Regions from separate parts of the Homo sapiens genome. Here region 2 is linked to region 1. Evidence: promoter capture Hi-C in 16 types of primary human blood cells and fetal thymus (Javierre and others, 2016). All regions are on one chromosome and are shown on one strand. The core of a region is centred on a gene start or on the middle of the fragment in contact, and the rest is flanking DNA. Distances in the headings are between cores, read along the strand shown.

Region 1 (4,107 bases), core at 985-3,484:
TGCAACCTCTGCCTCCCAGGTTCAAGTGATTCCCGTGCCTCAGCTTCCCAAGTAGCTAGGATTACAGGCATGTGCCACCACACCCAGCTAATTTTCTTGTATTTTGAGTAGAGACAAGGTTTCGCCATGTTGCCCAGGCTGCTCTCAAACTCCTGACCTCAGGTAATCTGCCTCGGCCTCCCAAAGTGCTGTGATTACAGGTGTGAGCCACCATGCCCGGCTGACTTAGTAAGTTTTATGAGCAGGCTTGAGGGAGTACTAAGGTTCTGAGACCAAGCAGTGCTTATTAAGAGACCACTTACTTCTTCTCCAGGAGAGTCAGTTATCTGGTTTGGTTCTATCCACTTATTAAATAAAAAATAGCCTAAAATTAGCATATAGTTTAGAAATGTAAGTCTTTTCAAAGGATGCTTATTAACTTTTGGTAATAATTGCTATTAAAAAGGAATTTAGGCCAGACACGGTGGCTCACACCTGTAATCCTAGCACTTTGGGAGGCCGAGGCGGGCGGATCACAAGGTCAGGAGTTCGAGATCAGCCTGGCCAACGTAGTGAAACCGCATCTCTACTAAAAATACAAAAATGAGCCAGGCATGGTGGCGCACGCCTGTAATCCCAGCTACTCAGGAGGCTGAAGCAGGAGAATCACTTGAACCTGGGAGGCAGAGGTTGCAGTGAGCCGAGATCATGCCACTGCACTCCAGCCTGGGCAACAGAGCGAGACTCCGTCTCAAAAAATAAATAAATAAAGAAAAAGGAATTTAAGGCTAACACCAATTAGTTAGAAAATTATTCTCATGAAATGCTTCTTTTCACATATCTAAACAGGGAAGCTTCCATACTATAGCTGTAGTCTGGAAGATACAGCTAGATTCAGAATGATGTCCTGAAGTCTGAATAGTTTTGAATCTTATTTTTAGTAAGCAGTTCCTTTTTCCTGCACTAGCTGCTCTGCTGATACTCTAATGAAAACTGGCTGAAACTACTGGAACCATGGCATTTGGATTAAAAAACTAAGGCTGCCAAAGCAGAGATAGCACCCAAGAGAAACAGAAAATTATTGGGACAGGCAGAGACCCTGACATTCATCAATACTTACTCAGAAATATTTTGGCTAAGTTTCCAGAAGGACCCATCCCAGAAGACCTGTAGGTGTTCCTTGAACAATAGTAAATGTGCTAAATCTGCTATACCAAACAGGTCTACCTGAAATCACAAAAAGCACCATCAGCTAAAATAATTCTCTGCCTCTACCATGGCAGCTTATTTCGGTAGGAAGTTGAAAGGTATTACAGTGCTTAACTAAGTTTATTTTATGACATACATTTTAGTAGACTGTTCCTCACCCTTACAGTAAAGGGAGAAGCTCTCCAAAGAAGTGATCAATAGAGCCAATTCTAGGAATTATCCTTAAGAACAAAAGATGAAATATTTGGACTATCACATTCAAATTTGTAGACCTACTGAGTTTGCATGAACTCCAGCTGTGATCTAAATGGGGTCCACATGATTAGTTCAGGTTTGTGCTACATATTCAATCAGCAAATGTCTTATGTCTAAAGCTGAGTTAGAAGGAATTTCTGCATATAATGCCACCATACAAAAGACTTTACATTTGTGCTAATGTTCTTTTTATATACATTACTTCATTTACTCCTCATAACAATTCTGATAAACACATAGCAGAGACTGTTATCCCTATTTTACAGAGAAGATCACAGAAAATGACTTATAAAAGATTACATGGGTGGTAGGCAGTAGGAGTGGCCCTGGCACTCGGTTACAGAGTTAGTCATGTGTTTGCACATGTATGTGTATATTCTTCAATGCTGTAACACAAAAATGTTACATTTTACTTGACTTGGTGATATTTGAAAACTAGGTCATCTATTCTAGGAGTCGGTATCAGTAAACAGTAGCTTTTATAGCTTATCTAGATAATAAAGAGATTAAGAAACCCTCTCCATATTTGCTCAGGCTTGTTTTACACTTACCTGGTAGGGAGAAGAACAGTTAGCCAGGATCTTTTGTCCTTCCAGGATCTGTACAGTCCGAAAGCCGCTGAGGGTAAAAACATCCAGCTGCACCCTAAGGTCAACACTGTAGGAAAAGTCCACTATCTTCAAAGCTTGATTGTTCTTGTTACAATCATAGGGATCGTGGATTCTGAGCCCAGATTTAAGAGAAGGAGATAATAAAAATAGGCCATGAAAGAAGCTGCATAGCTGGTCTTTAAAAAAAAAAGGTACCTTGGGTACATCTTAGCTATGCCAACAACTCCCTCCAGTGGTTAATTTTGAAAATGCACCTGTAAGACAGAGCAGTGGCAGTGTCCACCCAATGCGGAAGGAATGTCACCACTTTGGTGACACAAAGTATATTTCAATCACGGTGCATGGCCACCATTAAACATTTATCAAGCTTCCATATTATATAAAGTAAGTATGGAAGCAGAGCACAGGCTTCTTCCCTGTACTGTACACATTAACACATACAATTGCAATGATTTATACACTGACAGGAATTATGATGGAGGAAATTAAAATTTTATAGGTGTCATAGCCTTTCTTGTTTACTATTCCAGATAGGCTTTCCAAGTATTGTTTAGATTCTTCCTTCCAGAGTTTAATGGAAAACAATGCAAGTCTGTTTTATAAAGTCCTATCTGTATTGTAAAATTTCTTGTAAAACACCATATTTTATCTTACTCTTACTTGTAATTCCAGTTATTTACTAAAAAAATCTTTATAATACTAATTAATTATCAATTAATTTTGTTTTCCTTGGGTTTATCTATCCTATGCAATAATGCTATTCTCCAAGGGGACATAGGAACTGTTTATAAATGAAAAGAGTGGGTTTTCATGTGTTCCTTTTGTCTGTTTTTCTCAATTAATTCCCTCAAACTCCTGATATTGGTGCAATATTCCTAAATACAGTCTTTAACTACTCCAATTACATACCTCCACGGCACAGAATGATCTATGTATTTTACTTTAAAATTGATAATTGCTCTCATTTTTCCTTGGCACAAGAGCCAACCTTTTTTGGCCACCATAAAACTATACTATAATTAAAAAAAAAAAAAAATATATATATATATATATATATATAGTATATATATAGTTATAGGGATCGTGGATTCTGATATATATAAAATATACATATGTATTTTATATATATATGTAAAGTGTGTGCATGTGTGTGTTTTGTTTGGTTTCTTAGACAAGGTCTACACTCTTGTCACTGAGGCTGGAGTACAGTGGTGCGATCTCAGCTCAGTGCAGTCTCTGCCTCCTAGGTTCAAGCGATCCTCCCATCTCAGCCTCCCGAGTAGCTGGGACTACTGGTGTGTGCCACCATGCCTGGCTAATTTCTTAATTTTTTGTAGAGATGAGGTCTCATTATATTGCCCAGACTGGTCTTGAACTCCTAGGCTCAAGTGATCCTCTGCCTTGGTCTCCCAAAGTGCTGGGATTACAGATGTGAGTCACCATGCCCAGTGTAATTGTAAAATATTTATATAACTTTGGAGGCATAGGGAAAAAATGTCTCATAGATTAATAAAAAGAAGCATGCATGAAGGTGTCCTAGCCCTCTAATCAGCTACTCACTCACTGTTACTTTGGGTAGGACATTCCATTTTTTTGGATCTCATTTTCCTCACAAAAAATATGCAGAAACTAAAGTAAGCAACTAAACTAAGCAATTTCAAAAGGTTCTTTCTGGCTTTTATTTTATTTTTGTAGAGACAGGGTCTTGCTATGTTGACCAGGCTGGTCTTGAACTCCTGGCCTCAAGAGATCCTCCTGCCTCTGCCTCCCAAAGTGCTGGGATTGCAGATGTGAACCACTGCATCCAGCCCTTTCTGGCTTTTGTTGTTGTTTTGTTTTGAGATGGAGTCTCGCTCTGTCACCCAGGCTGGAGTGCAGTGGCATGATCTTGGCTCACTGCAAGCTCTGCCTCCCGGGTTCACGCCATTCTCCTGCCTCAGCCTCCTGAGTAGCTGGGACTACAGGCACCTGCCACCACGGCTGGCTATCTTGTTGTATTTTTAGTAGAGACAGGGTTTCACTGTGTTAGCCAGGATGGTCTTGATCTCCTGAC
Region 2 (3,780 bases), core at 121-2,620, 420 kb after region 1:
CAGGCATAACTTTTGTCAGCTGAATTGATTTTTGTGGAAGGACCTTGTCGGAGTCCATTCTTCATACTGGTTCTTCTGCCCTGAACAACTTTAATTGTTAATGATATCTGGACTGTGGCATAAGTCTGCTTTAGATATGTGTGTAGACAAACTTATTTCTGTTGGTAGCTTTGAAAATTGCCCTAAAGCTTCTTTAGCCCATATAAAATTGTTTACCAATTACCCTTTACCCTCAAATTGAAAAGTAGATATCTTTATAGCAGATGGAGAAATCTTTTATATGGAGGGTACTGTTTGCGATTTCATCCTGGTAGCAATAATTATAAAGCTAGCTATGAATTGAAATTATTTACTTGTTTTCCTGTAAAGCCTCATGAGGACAGGTTTGCTGCTCCTTTGGAAAGGTTTTTATTTTTTGGTCTAGTGACGCTTCTTATTGTACTTGCAAAGTCCTCAAAACTTAGGTCTGGCTTCCTGGATTCCCCCAGTGCTTTTCTGTCTTAGGCCGAATAGAAGAACTTGACCTTTCTTCCCTCTCATCTACTTTTGGTGATTTAGGTTCCCCTAATTTAAAAAGTATCTTCTGTGGAATTAATTTTGTTTGTGTATCTTGCAGGTACTACTCAGTCCTCTATCCACTGGAGAGGAAAATATCTGATGCCAAGTCCCGTGAACTGGTGATGTACATCTGGGCCCATGCAGTGGTGGCCAGTGTCCCTGTGTTTGCAGTAACCAATGTGGCTGACATCTATGCCACGTCCACCTGCACGGAAGTCTGGAGCAACTCCTTGGGCCACCTGGTGTACGTTCTGGTGTATAACATCACCACGGTCATTGTGCCTGTGGTGGTGGTGTTCCTCTTCTTGATACTGATCCGACGGGCCCTGAGTGCCAGCCAGAAGAAGAAGGTCATCATAGCAGCGCTCCGGACCCCACAGAACACCATCTCTATTCCCTATGCCTCCCAGCGGGAGGCCGAGCTGCACGCCACCCTGCTCTCCATGGTGATGGTCTTCATCTTGTGTAGCGTGCCCTATGCCACCCTGGTCGTCTACCAGACTGTGCTCAATGTCCCTGACACTTCCGTCTTCTTGCTGCTCACTGCTGTTTGGCTGCCCAAAGTCTCCCTGCTGGCAAACCCTGTTCTCTTTCTTACTGTGAACAAATCTGTCCGCAAGTGCTTGATAGGGACCCTGGTGCAACTACACCACCGGTACAGTCGCCGTAATGTGGTCAGTACAGGGAGTGGCATGGCTGAGGCCAGCCTGGAACCCAGCATACGCTCGGGTAGCCAGCTCCTGGAGATGTTCCACATTGGGCAGCAGCAGATCTTTAAGCCCACAGAGGATGAGGAAGAGAGTGAGGCCAAGTACATTGGCTCAGCTGACTTCCAGGCCAAGGAGATATTTAGCACCTGCCTGGAGGGAGAGCAGGGGCCACAGTTTGCGCCCTCTGCCCCACCCCTGAGCACAGTGGACTCTGTATCCCAGGTGGCACCGGCAGCCCCTGTGGAACCTGAAACATTCCCTGATAAGTATTCCCTGCAGTTTGGCTTTGGGCCTTTTGAGTTGCCTCCTCAGTGGCTCTCAGAGACCCGAAACAGCAAGAAGCGGCTGCTTCCCCCCTTGGGCAACACCCCAGAAGAGCTGATCCAGACAAAGGTGCCCAAGGTAGGCAGGGTGGAGCGGAAGATGAGCAGAAACAATAAAGTGAGCATTTTTCCAAAGGTGGATTCCTAGCAAGGATTGTAAATTCTTGGAAGCAACGGGGAGCTTCCATATTCCCACCAGAGTGTGGGAATGCTGTGGCCATGTGATTGTATGATCTCCTTGCAACTCAGTGTGAGTTGATTCCTCCAATATGGGCCAGATGCTTTTGAATGATAGGGAAATCTACATAAAATCCAGTGTCCTCTTTATTGAGGGAGTATATGTATCCATCTCAGTGATCCATGTCCTTAGTGAAGTCCACATTATTCTCTGTGGGGACAAGAGCTGGGCAGTTTTGAATGGGTCTTGAGGTGGGTACCCCATGTGCACTTTCTGAGGATGCCTCACTTCCCTGGGCTCTGCAGAGAACACACAGAGAGAAGACTTTCAGAGCTCACAGGAGCAGGGAGCAGGAGCACTCTAAGGGAATTCCAAGATCATGATGGAGCATGGTGGCTCCAGAGAAAATGCCTGTTTGATGAACTTAAACATGTCAAACATTTTCTGTTGAGAAGGTAGGGATTTGGTGTCTTACACTGTTTCTCTGGAAGCCCCAGTCATATGACTCACTGTTTCTCCTGATACCCTTCGTCCCTTTCATTGGGATGTAGGTAAGGAATGACGATTCCTCACCTATGGTACACATGGCGATAGATGTGCCCGGGAGTAAGGGAGATATTTTGTCCTTGATAATTCTGATTTTCCCTTGGCATCACCAACGCCTCAGAGAGATACACCTGCACCCTCCAGTCAGGGTCAGTGTTGGCTGGAAAACACTGAAAAGTCTTCGCTCTGTCTTTCACCTTAAATTGTGTTTTCTCAACAAATGAGAGAGAAGCTTACGGGGGAGATGCCTGAGAGATGCCTATGGCGCTGTAGTTTTTTTTTCTTCCCTATGATCTCACATGAAAGGTGCTATGTAACAACCAGTATGAGTCAAATATATTGAAAAAATCATCTTATGCAAACTTTAGGAATTAAAAGGTATTTTTAAAATGGAGAGTTAGTGTAAGCTGGGTCCTTTGGAAACATCAAACTGAAAAGGCCTGATTTGGAAAGGTGACTCTGCCCAAAAGGTTGGCAAGAATCTGACAAAGATGGTTTCCTTCCGAGGAAGACTCCGGAACTCAGGTGTGGCCAGTCTCCTTTTCAGTCTGTTTGTACAGCTGCGGTTCTCTCTTAATTTTGGACACAGAGGAGGAACAGAACAGGGAGAAATAATCATTGTAGAGTGCCAAGGCAACATCTGACCCAGATGAGCTCTTCACTTCCTCCTTCCCTGTCGTTGTAGAGCCAGACTGGGTAGAAGAGGGAGGGCAGTGTCCTCAACTCATCAGCCTCACAAGCAATTTGGGACCCCTCTGGGGTGGATTTCACCAGGTTGAATTAGAACCGCAGATAATACTTCCCTGTTAGTGAGGACAAACCAAGCGCCAGCTCTGCCCTTTTCTCTAGAGTGTTGTGTTCTTGCTCTTGGTACTTACAGGAGCTAGTCTGGTGCCTTGAGCAAGCTTGAAGGGAAGTGGGTGTCCTCACCAGCAAACTTCCACATCTCAACTCGTGCCCTCTTTTGGCCACACTGGCCCCGTCTCTTGGAGGGAGCCCAGACCCTGTAGGGAGTTTTGTTTTCCTTTCTTCTCTTGGGTGTGGTGTCTTGTGTTTCTGAATGTGAACCCAAAGACCCTACCCCTGGAGAGGAAGCACCTTCCTCTTTGTGTTGGTCTCCTCATAGCACTGTTTGCTCACAGCAGAAACGGGGCTGCCACAGCCTCCTGCGGCTCTGCTGCCTTCTGGGCCCTGCGTGCATGGCATCTATAGCTCCTTGCCCTGATAGTCAATGCTGTGGCCCTTCAAGCTTGTCTTTCAAAGCTTTCACAATCATTACAACTTTTATCAAGGGGAATAATAATCTCTAGGAAAATTATGTCCACTTTAGGAGAATCTGTCAAGTGTAGCCACTTTGGTGTTGTTCTGATAATATACTGTATATGTACAACTTAATAAATTTTGATGAGGCAGAATCTGGTTGGGTATGTTTCTTATATATGTTTGAAGCAGATGGCTGACTACT

Evidence for each region. The method cuts DNA at HindIII sites, captures the fragments that hold promoters and counts their contacts. A CHiCAGO score of 5 or more calls a contact.
Region 2: a contact is called between a fragment that was not itself captured here and the fragment with the promoter of BUB1B-PAK6 in region 1, in 4 of 17 cell types (naive B cells, total B cells, naive CD4 T cells and 1 more). The highest score is 13.6, in naive B cells.

Annotation. Positions count from the first base shown.
Region 1 is chr15:40,215,555-40,219,661 of GRCh38, reverse strand. BUB1B-PAK6 (BUB1B-PAK6 readthrough) reads right to left here and starts at 2,234. Exons shown (of 10, transcript NM_001128629.3): 1 at 1,995-2,234. It overlaps BUB1B (BUB1 mitotic checkpoint serine/threonine kinase B), which reads right to left. Exons shown (of 23, transcript NM_001211.6): 21 at 1,995-2,166; 22 at 1,100-1,206. All of the region lies in intron 1 of LOC107984763 (a long non-coding RNA gene), which reads left to right. The HindIII fragment of the contact is 293 bases long and covers 2,131-2,423 here.
Region 2 is chr15:39,799,091-39,802,870 of GRCh38, reverse strand. GPR176 (G protein-coupled receptor 176) reads left to right here. Exons shown (of 3, transcript NM_007223.3): 3 at 617-3,780. The coding sequence ends at 1,739. Among named protein-coding and RNA genes, the nearest start is that of FSIP1, 18 kb to the right of the region's middle. The HindIII fragment of the contact is 2,359 bases long and covers 191-2,549 here.